Regions from separate parts of the Homo sapiens genome. Here region 1 is linked to region 2. The links are contacts of gene promoters, found by promoter capture Hi-C in human tissues and cell types (Jung and others, 2019). All regions are on one chromosome and are shown on one strand. Each heading gives the region's core, a stretch centred on a gene start or on the middle of the fragment in contact. The rest is flanking DNA. Distances are from core to core; before and after follow the strand shown. Region 1 has its middle 74 kb from the start of MAPKAPK5-AS1. Region 2 holds the start of HECTD4 (HECT domain E3 ubiquitin protein ligase 4).

The links. Contacts are between HindIII fragments. The study calls those that stand out against the background at their distance.
Region 1: a fragment that was not itself captured here is called in contact with the fragment with the promoter of HECTD4 in region 2 in 1 of the 25 tissues and cell types used here (spleen).

What each region holds. Positions count from the first base shown.
Region 1 is chr12:111,914,417-111,919,479 of GRCh38, forward strand. No RefSeq gene overlaps it. Among named protein-coding and RNA genes, the nearest start is that of MAPKAPK5-AS1, 74 kb to the left of the region's middle. The HindIII fragment of the contact is 8,585 bases long and covers 1-5,063 here.
Region 2 is chr12:112,380,382-112,385,364 of GRCh38, forward strand. It overlaps HECTD4 (HECT domain E3 ubiquitin protein ligase 4), which reads right to left and starts at 2,050. Exons shown (of 76, transcript NM_001388303.1): 1 at 1,571-2,050. The coding sequence starts at 1,747. RefSeq lists enhancers at 8-508, 1,694-2,193 and silencers at 1,201-1,690, 1,701-1,970, 2,081-2,370. The HindIII fragment of the contact is 28,101 bases long and covers 1-4,983 here.

The sequences.
Region 1 (5,063 bases), core at 2,057-4,556, 460 kb before region 2:
GTAGAGACGGGGTTTCACCATGTTGGCCAGGCTGGTCTGGAACTCCTGAGGTCAAGTGATCCACCTGCCTTGGCCTCCCAAAGTGCTGGGATTACAGGCATGAGCCACTGTGCCCGACCAGGAGAATCTCTTGAGCCCAGGAGTTTGAGGCTGCAGTGAGCCATGACTGCACCACTGCACTCCAGCCTGGGCGACAGAGTGAAACCCCAACAATTTTTTTTTTTTTTTTTGAGACAGTCTTGCTCTGTCACCCAGGCTGGAGTGCAGTGGTATGATCTCAGCTCACTGCAAGCTCCGCCTCCCGGGTTCACAACATTCTCCTGCCTCAGCCTCCCTGGTAGCTGGGACTACAGGTGCCCGCCACCACGTCTGGCTAATTTTGTTTTTGTATTTTTAGTAGAGATGGGGTTTCACCGTGTTAGCCAGGATGGTCTCGATCTCCTGACCTTGTGATCTGCCTGCCTTGGCCTCCCAAAGTGGTAGAATTACAGGCGTGAGCCACCACGCCCGGCCAACCCTAACTCTTAAAAAAAAAAAAAAAAAGGAATGAAATACTAACACCTGCTACAATGTGGATGAACTTTAAGAATATCATGCTAAATTGGCCAGGCACGGTGGCTCATGCCTGTAATCCCAGCACTTTGGGAGGCTGAGGTGGGCAGACCATGAGGTCAGGAGATCGAGACCATCCTGGCTAACATGACGAAACCCCGTCTCTACTAAAAATACAAAAAATTAGCTGGGTGTGGTGGCAGGCGCCTGTAGTCCCAGCTACTCCTGAGGCTGAGGCAGGAGAATGGTGTGAACTCGGGAGGCGGGGCTTGCAGTGAGCTGAGATAGCGCCACTGCACTCCAGCCTGGGTGACAGAGCGAGACTCCGTCTCAAAAAAAAAAAAAAAGATTATGCTAAATTTAAAAAGTGCAAAAACTCTATTTAAGGGTTTCCTGTGTTCCATTGATCTATGTGTGTATCTCATCAGCAATACCGCATACTATTGAAACAGAAAAGAGTGATTTCTCCAAGTTATTATTTTCCAAAATTGTTTTAGCTAGTCTTGTTCCTTTGTCTTTTAGAAAATTTATATTGTAAAATATAAATTTTAAAATTTTCTTGTCTGTATCTACAAAGAATCTTGTTCGGATTGTGATATGAATTGGGTTAAGTCTATGTATCAGTTTGAGGAGAACTGGTATCTTTATTACGTTGTGTCTTCCAATTTGTAAACATAGCAAATCTCTATTTATTTACATCTTTGATTTCTTTCATCAGTGTCTTGTGGTTTTCATTTAATAGGTCCTGTACATATTTTGTTAAATTTACATCTAAATATTTCATTTTTTGAGTGATTTTAAATTGTATTTTTATTTTGATTAAATTGTTCATTGCTAGTATACAGAAATATAATTGATTTTTATATGTTGCTACTGTATCCTGCAAGGGGGAAGATTCAGTCTTTCACCATTAAGTAAAACATTAACTATAGGCTTTTTGTAGATGTTCTTATTACATTGAGGTAGTTTTCACTCTCTACCTAGTTTTCTGGGAGTTTTTATCATGAATGGATGTAAAGCTTAGCCAAATGCTTTTTTCTGCACCAATTGATATGATCATGGGATTTTTCTTATTTAGCCTGCTAACATGGTGAATTCAATGTTTGATTTTCAAACATAAACCAATCCTGCATCCCTGGAAAAAACAAAACTTGGTCATGGTGTATAATTCTTTTTTTCACATTGCTGAATTTTATTTGCTAATATTTGGTTAAATTTTTTTTGCATCTATATTCATGAAGGATATTGGTCTGTAGTTTTCTTTTTTTGTACTGTCTTTCTCTGGTTTTGGTATCAGGGTGATGCTGGCCTCATAAAATGAATCGGATAGGGTTCCCTTTCCTTCTCTTTTATTTTTCTAGAAGAGATTGTGTAGAATTAGTGTTAATTTATTTTTAAAGGTTTGTTATAATTCTCCAGTGAAACCATCTGGGCCTGATTATTTTTCTTGGGAGATGTGAAGTTATAAATTCAATTTTCTTTTTTCTTTCTTTTTTTTTTGAGATGGAGTTTTCCCAGGCTGGAGTGCAATGGCATGATGTCGGCTCACCGCAACCTCCACCTCCTGGGTTCAAGCGATTCTCCTGCCTCAGCCTCCCAAGTAGCTGGGATTACAGGCACGTGCCACCATGCCTGGCTAATTTTGTATTTTTAGTAGAGACAGGGTTTCTCCATGTTGGTCAGGCTGGTCTCAAACTCCCAACCTCAGGTGATCCGCCCGCCTCAGCCTCCCAAAGTGCTGGGATCACAGGCATGAGCTACCGTGCCTGGCGAAATTCAATTTTCTTAATAGCTATAAAGATATTCAACTTATCTAGTTCACATTGGGTGAGATGTAGTAGTTTGTGCTTTTTGAGAAATTGGTCCATTTATCTAAGGTATCAAATGTACGTCTGTAAAGCTGTTTGTAGTGGTTCCTCATTATTCTTTTGGCATCTGTTAGGTCTGTAGTGATATATTATTTCATTCTTGATTGCCATATTGTTTTAAAACAAGAATTTAGGCTGGGCCCAGTGGCTCACGCCTGTAATCCCAGCACTTTGGGAGGCTGAGGCGGGCGGATCATGAGATCAGGAGATTGAGAACATCCTGGCTAACACAGTGAAACCCCATCTCTACTAAAAATACAAAAAATTAGCTGGGCATGGTGGCACGTGCCTGTAGTCCCAGCTACTTGGGAGGCTGAAGGAGAATCACTTGAACCAGGGAGGCAGAGGTTGCAGTGAGCCAAGATCGGGAGGCTGAAGGAGAATCACTTGAACCAGGGAGGCAGAAGTTGCAGTGAGCCAAGATCGCACCACTGCACTCCAGCCTGGGCGACAGAGCAAGACTCCACTTCAAAAAAAAAAAAAAAAAAAAAAAAAAAAAAAAAGAAGAAGAAGAAAACAAGAATTTATGACTTAAATTTTCTTTTTTGGGTGTACCTCTTAATAACTACATATCCTCTTTTCCCCTTTAATGATTTTATTTTATTTCATTTCATTTTATTTTATTATTTTTTGAGATGGAGTCTCGCTCTGTCGCCCAGGCTGGAGTGCAATGGCGCGATCTCAGCTCGCTGCAACCTCTGTCTGCCTCCTGGGTTCATGCCATTCTCCTGCCTCAGCCTCCTGAGTAGCTGGGACTCCAGGTGCCTGCCACCACGCCCAGCTAATTTTTTGTATTTTTAGTAGAGGCGGGGTTTCACCATGTTAGCCAGGATGGTCTTGATCTCCTGAACTCGTGATCCGCCCACCTCAGCCTCCCAAAGTGCTGGGATTAGAGGTGTGAGCCACTGCCTGTAAAATTAATGATTTTAATCTTGAATTTTACTTTGTTTTGAACATTGCAATCCCTGCTTTCTTCTTATTTGTTTTTGCCTGGAATATTTGTGCTCAACCTTTTAATTATATTTTCATGGTAGAAAAAGGTAAGAGGAATGGCAAATAAATTTTTTTTTTTTTTGAGATGGAGTATTGCTCTGTCACCCAGGCTGGAGTACAGTGGTGTCATCTCAGCTCACTACAACCTCCACCTTCCAGGTTAAAGTGATTCTTGTTCCTCAGCCTCCCAAGTAGCTGGGACTACAGGCGCATGCCACCAGGCCCAGCTAATTTTTGTACTTTTAGTAGAGATGGGGTTTCACCATGTTGGCCAGGCTGGTCTCGAACTCCTGATCTCAAGTGATCTGCCTGCCTGGGCCTCCCAAAGTGCTGGAATTACAGGCATGAGCCACTGTGCCTGGCCACAAGTAAATTATTTTGATGGAGCACTTAACTGCTATAACTTACTATTTATATTGACATAATGATAGAGGTTTATTCATGATTATTAGCAACAGGAAAGTAACCACTAGAGTAACTGAGTATTGACAAGCAAAGTAAAACTTTACAAAGTAACATAGGAATAAGAAAAGGAATAAAGGAAATCTATCCAAGCCAGTGAAAGACAGGGAAAAAAAGGGAAGCAATAGAAAGTATAATAAATATTATATAATTTTCAGAATAGCATTCTGAATTGGATGACAATGTATTTTCTCCTCTTATTAATAATTTTCTTCTCAGTAATTTCTTCTTACTGAAAGCTCTTCTAACTAAATAGAGACAGTGAGGCTGAAGTTTATTGTCCCAGGAAGAAAGGAATCAAATAATAAGAATAAAGAGTCAAATTTTTGGTTTTGAGTTCCAAAATGGGCTCTCAAAATCTTTGGCAGGGCTGAACATGGTGGCTCACACCTGTAATCCCAGCACTTTGAGAGGCCAAGGCAGGAGGACTGCTGGAGCCCAGGAGTTCGAGACCAGCCTAGGCTAAATACTGAGGTCCTATCTCTACCAAAACAAACAAACAAACAAACAAACAAACAAAAAACTAGCCCAGCATGTGGCTACTTGGGAAGCTGAATCCTTGGCAGAAAAAAATAGCCTTAGGATCAAAGTATTTTTTATTTATTAAGAGTGGATGGCCGGGGATGGTGGCTCACACCTGTAATCCCAGAACTTTGGGAGGCTGAGGAGGGTGGATCATTTGAGATCAGGAGTTTGAGACCAGCCTGGCCAAATGGTGAAACCCTGTCTCTACTAAAAACAGAAAAATTAGCTGGGCGTGGTGATGCATGCCTATAATCCCAGCTACTTGGGAGGCTGAGGCAGGAGAATTGCTTGAACCTGGGAGGTGGAGGTTGCAGTAAGCCAAGATCACACCACTGCAATCCAGCTTGGGTGACAGAGCAAGATTCTGTTTCCAAAAACAAAACAAAACAAAACAAAACAAAACAGGAGTTGTGCTTTTGAGCCCGAGGTGTGCCTATCAAGTGAGCCCAGGAATTCAAGACCAGCCTAGCCAGCACGATGAAAACCTGTCTGTACTAAAAATACAAAAATTAGCTGGGGGTGGTGGTGTGCACCTGTAGTCCCAACTATTTGGGCAGCTGAGGCATGAGGATTGCTTGAACCTGGGAGGCGGACGTTGCAGTGGGCTGAGATTGCGCCACGGCACTCCAGCCTAGGCAAGAGTAAGACTCTGTCAAAAAAATA
Region 2 (4,983 bases), core at 800-3,299:
CTGCAGTGGGCTGAGATCGCGCCACTGCACTCCAGCCTGGGCGACAGAGCAAGACTCGGTCTCGGGGGAAAAAAAAGAAAAGAAAGAAACAAAGAGCATCCACTTTCCACCTTTCACACACAACACAGCCAATTAAATCAAAAGATTCCACTATCATAGCATAATACCCCTTGAGTTTTCAGGCAGATAAGACACTCAGACACACCTTGCTTGTTATAGAACAGGCCCAAATGAGACACAATAAAACGATGATTCCATGTTAGGAATTCCCTACCAACCATATCCTCCTCTTTTTGGTGACTAGATTGTAAAATAAGTCAATTAAGAGTTCATAACGGAAGTGCTGAAGCAACCGCAAATCCAGACACAAAAATACAGTGGAACGTATTCGCATCTCAAGCACGTCCAAATGTCTCGGCCAATGTGATCCGATCACTGCCGTTTCCAGAAACACACAGTAATGGCTTTTAATTCATTTCTATAAATGTTCGTTGTGCGTAAAGCCAAACTGCACGCAAAACCGCAAAACACAAAAGATCCCTCGCATGCCGTTTATAGCCAGAAGATAGGCCATCCTCTCTGCGCCCTACCCCAGAAAGCTCTCCTTACGGCAGTAAAAATTTGATGACACCCCATGCTACCTACACATCAAAATGTCATCCCACAAAGTGGAAGGGGAGCAGTGTCAGCATCCGTTGGCCTCCATGAAACGACACTGCCAGTATTCCCACCTCTAGGCAAACACGAACCCAAGTGAAGTCGATGGAAAGTTCCCACCAACCAGGCATATTTGGTTCCCTTCTGCCCCCAAGGCCAAGCAGCTCAACTGATGAGATCTGCTGTTGCACCTGCCACGGCTCTGAACCCGGGATGCTTGGCGACCCCCGGGGCACACAAAAAGGCCCTGCGGCCTAACGCGCCAGTGACCCTTCCCCGAGAGTGCATGGAGGGCCGCTGGAGCATCCCTCTCGCTGTCCACAGCGCCCGCTTCCCTGACAAAGGCCCCGTGTCAATCCATCCGAGACACAACACAGAGAAGTTGCTGGATTGCCCATCGCGGACCCGCAGCTGCCACTACCCTCTCCCGGAAAAAAACCAAACCAAACCAAACAAAAAAAACAGAACTAGGGAAGAAAAGGATGGGAGGGTACACAGCGTGAAAATCAAAATGTTCCCAAAGCTAAGCAACCTGGGTGTGCCCTGGAAGTGGGTCCTGGGGGCCCGTGGGGGAGGGGAGGGAGGGCCCGGGTGGTGGCGGTGGCTCCTCTGGGGCATGAAGGCCGAGCCAGGCGCTAGCCTAATAAAATGCCGGGTGTCGGAACGCTCAAAAGAAAACCACAAATGAAATCCCCTGCGGGCGCCAGGCCCCGAGGAGGGAGGGAGGGAGAGCGGGGCGGGCGGTCCGCAGACCTGCGGCCGCGGCCCCACCTGCCCGCCCCGCGCCCACACACACCTGCCCCGGCAGCCGCCGGGAGGCGAGGCCGCGGCTGAGGCGAGGAGGGGGCCCGACCCGGGGGTGCCGGGCGAGTGGGTCAGTCCGATGGCGGGGGCCGGGGGCCGCCTCGCTCACCTCCAGGTCGGTGTCCGCGGCCTCTGGGGCCCCGAGGATCTCGCTGGGCAGCTCGGCCAGGTCGGTGACCCGGATCAGCCCGTCGTGCAGGAAGATGGTCTCTTCCTTCACCGAGAGCCACTGCGCCGAGTCAGCGGCCGCCGCCGCCGCCGCCGCCGCGGCCGCCGACGAGCCCATGGCCCCGGCTGAAGGCTTGGCGCTGAGGAGCAGACGCCCGGCCGGGGGAAACGGAGCAGGAGCCGCCGCGATCACCAGTCCATGGCAGCGGCCGCCGCGCCCGCCAGCGGCGCCCCACTTGCTGCCTCGCCCGTGCAACTCCGCCCTAGGCGGTCCGAGTCGCCATACCCCCGACCCCGGCCCGGGAGACCCCGGCCCTGCCGCCGCCGCCGCCGCCGCCGCCGCCGCCGCCCTCAGGAGCAGGATCCGCCTCTGCCGCTCGGCAACCAACTGTCAGTGAGACGCCATGTTGGGGGCGGGGCTCCCGGCATGCCTCGCGGAGCGGACAATACAGGCCCCGCCCGCCGCTCCGCCCACCGCTCCGCGGACGAGGCCACCCGGGTGGCCTGGACGTCCGCCTAGCCCTTCGCTGCCGCCTGCCCTCGGCCTGACCTCCGCCGGCCCCTTCTCCCCCTGGCCATTCAGGGTAGCCCTGGCTTTGCAGCGCGCCAGGGAAGAGGACGCCGCTTCCCCCGTCCTGTCCCTACTCAGGTGTGCACCCCTTGCTCGGGCCCGCGCCCCCACCCTGGGCAGAGCATAGAGATCACTCCTTGTTTTCACGTTTAAATGAGATGCAAGCAAAAGGCTGGCGCAGAATAGGCGCTGCACACTTGTTCATAAGCACTTGGTAGAATCACATAGTAGATGATTAATATTGACTGAAAAGTCTAGTACCCAGTAAGCACTCAAAACCTGGTGAAAATAAAGCGTCTGTCCACAATGCTTGGTGCTCAATGCCCGACACTTAATATGTGCTCCATGAGTGGCAATTCTAATTATTGCTATGTTCGTTCCATCAGTGTTCCACACTAATTGACATACACCTTAAAAATATGCTCACTAGGCCGGGTGCGGTGGCTCACACCTGTAATCCCAGCACGGAGGTCAAGGCAGAAGGACTGCTTGAGCCCAGAAGTTTGAGGCCAGCCTGGGCAACATAGGGAGACCCCATCTCTACAAAAAATAAAAATTAGCGGGGCAGGGTGGCAAGCGTCTGTAGTCCTGCTACTCGGGAGGCTGAGGCAAGAGGATCTCTTGAACTCAGGAGGTGGAGGCTGCAGTGAGCTATTATCTTGCCACTGCACTCCAGCCCGGGCGACAGAGGGAGACCCCATCCCTCCCTCCCCACCAAAAATATATATATGCCCACCAGTGCCATTTTATAAAAACAAGAAAGGAAAACTATATGTATAAAGAACAATGCATGAACAAATACACACCAGATGTTTAAGGTGAGTTGCCATGGGAGTGTGGGGCTGGTCTGGAACTACTGAGATGAGATTGTTCTCTATTACTTGTATATTTTTATCACTTAAAAAATAATAAAACAGGCCGGGCACAGTGGCTTACACCTGTAATCCCAGCACTTTGGGAGGCCAAGGTGGGCAGATCACCTGAGGTCAGGAGTTCGAGACCAGCCTGGTCAACATGATGAAACCCTGTCTCTGCTAAAAAAAATACACAAATTAGCCAGGAATGGTTGCACATGCCTGTAGTCCCAGATACTCAGGAGGCTGAGGCAGGAGAATAGCTGGAACCCAGGAGGCGGAGGTTGCAGTGAGCCGAGATCATGCCACTGCACTCCAGCCTGGGCAACAGAGCAAGACTCCATCTCAATAATAATAATAATAATAATAATAACAATAACAATAACAGGAGAACATTAAGGTGCATACCCTTTGATCCAGCAATTCAACTTTGAGGAAGTTGTCTGAAGGAAATAATCAGACTCGTAGTCAAGGATGGATATACAGGGTTGTGTAGCTCAATATTGTTTACAAAAGGAAAAACTTATCAATCTAGATGTCCAACAATATGGGGCTGGTTAACTAAAATATGATATATCCATAAGATGGAATATTATGGCCGGGCACAGTGGCTCACGTGGGTAATCCCAACACTTTGGGAGGCCAAGGCTGGCAGATCTCTTGAGCCCAGAAGCTCGAGACCCCCTTGGGCAACATGACAAAACCCCGTCACTACAAAAAATACAAAAATTAGCCAGGCGTGGTGGTGCACACCCATAGTCCCAGCTACTCAGGAGGCTGAAGCAGGAAGATCGTTTGAGCCCAGAAGGCAGAAGTTGCAGTGATTCAGCTAAGATTATGCCACTGCACTCCAGCCTGGGCAACAGAGTAAGACCCTGTCTCAAAAAAGAAGAAAAGAAGAGGAAGAGGAGGAAGAAGAGAACAATAAATCCAGCAGTTCAGAGTTGATCAGAACCATGGAAACAATAAAACAGGCAAGTGTAATGGAATGGCCATTTCATCAAATCCTCCCAAATGTCTGAGAGGGGGAGTATTATTATTCCTACTTTCAGCTGGGAAGTCAAGACTCAGTTAGATACTTTGCTCAATGTCACAAAGCCAGTAAACATCAAAGCTCAGATGTAAACCCAGGTCTGTCCGATTTTACAACTTCAGCTTCCTTATTTTGACTGTAAGAAAACTCCTTCATTCCTTTTTTTTTTTTTTTTGAGACGGAGTCTTGCTCTGTTGCCCAGGCTGGAGTGCAATGGCATGATCTCGGCTCACTGCAACCTCTTGACTCACTGCAACCTCTGCCTCCTGGTTTCAAGTGATTCTCCTGCCTCAGCCTCCCGAGTAGCTGGGATTACAGGCGTGCACCACCATGCCTGGCTAATTTTTGTATTTTTAGTAGAGACGGGGTTTTACCATGTCGGTCAGGCTGGTCTCGAACTCCTGACCTCGTGATCTACCCGCCTCGGCCTCCCAAAGTGCTGGGATTACAGGTGTGAGCCACCGCGCCCGGCCCTTCATTCCCTTTTCCAAACCTAATAACAACTATCTATCACAATTAAAAATATATATATAGGCTGGATGTGGTGGCTTGCACCTGTAATCCCAGCATTTTGGGAGGCTGAGGCAGGCAGATCACCTGCGGTCAGGAGTTCGAGAGCAGCGTGGCCAACATGGCAAAACCCTTTCTCTACTAAAAAATATATAAAAATTAGCCAGGTGTCGTGGCGTGCACCTGTAGTCCCAGCTACTCAGGAGGCTGAGGCAGGAGAATCACTTGAACCCAGGAGGCGGAGGTTGCGGTGAGCCGAGATAGCGCCATTGCACTCCAGCCTGGGCAACAAGAGTGCAACGCTGTCTCTAAATAAATAAATAAATAAATAAACAAGCAAAATTAGGTGAGCATCGTGATGTGCAGCTGTAGTCCTAGCTACTTAG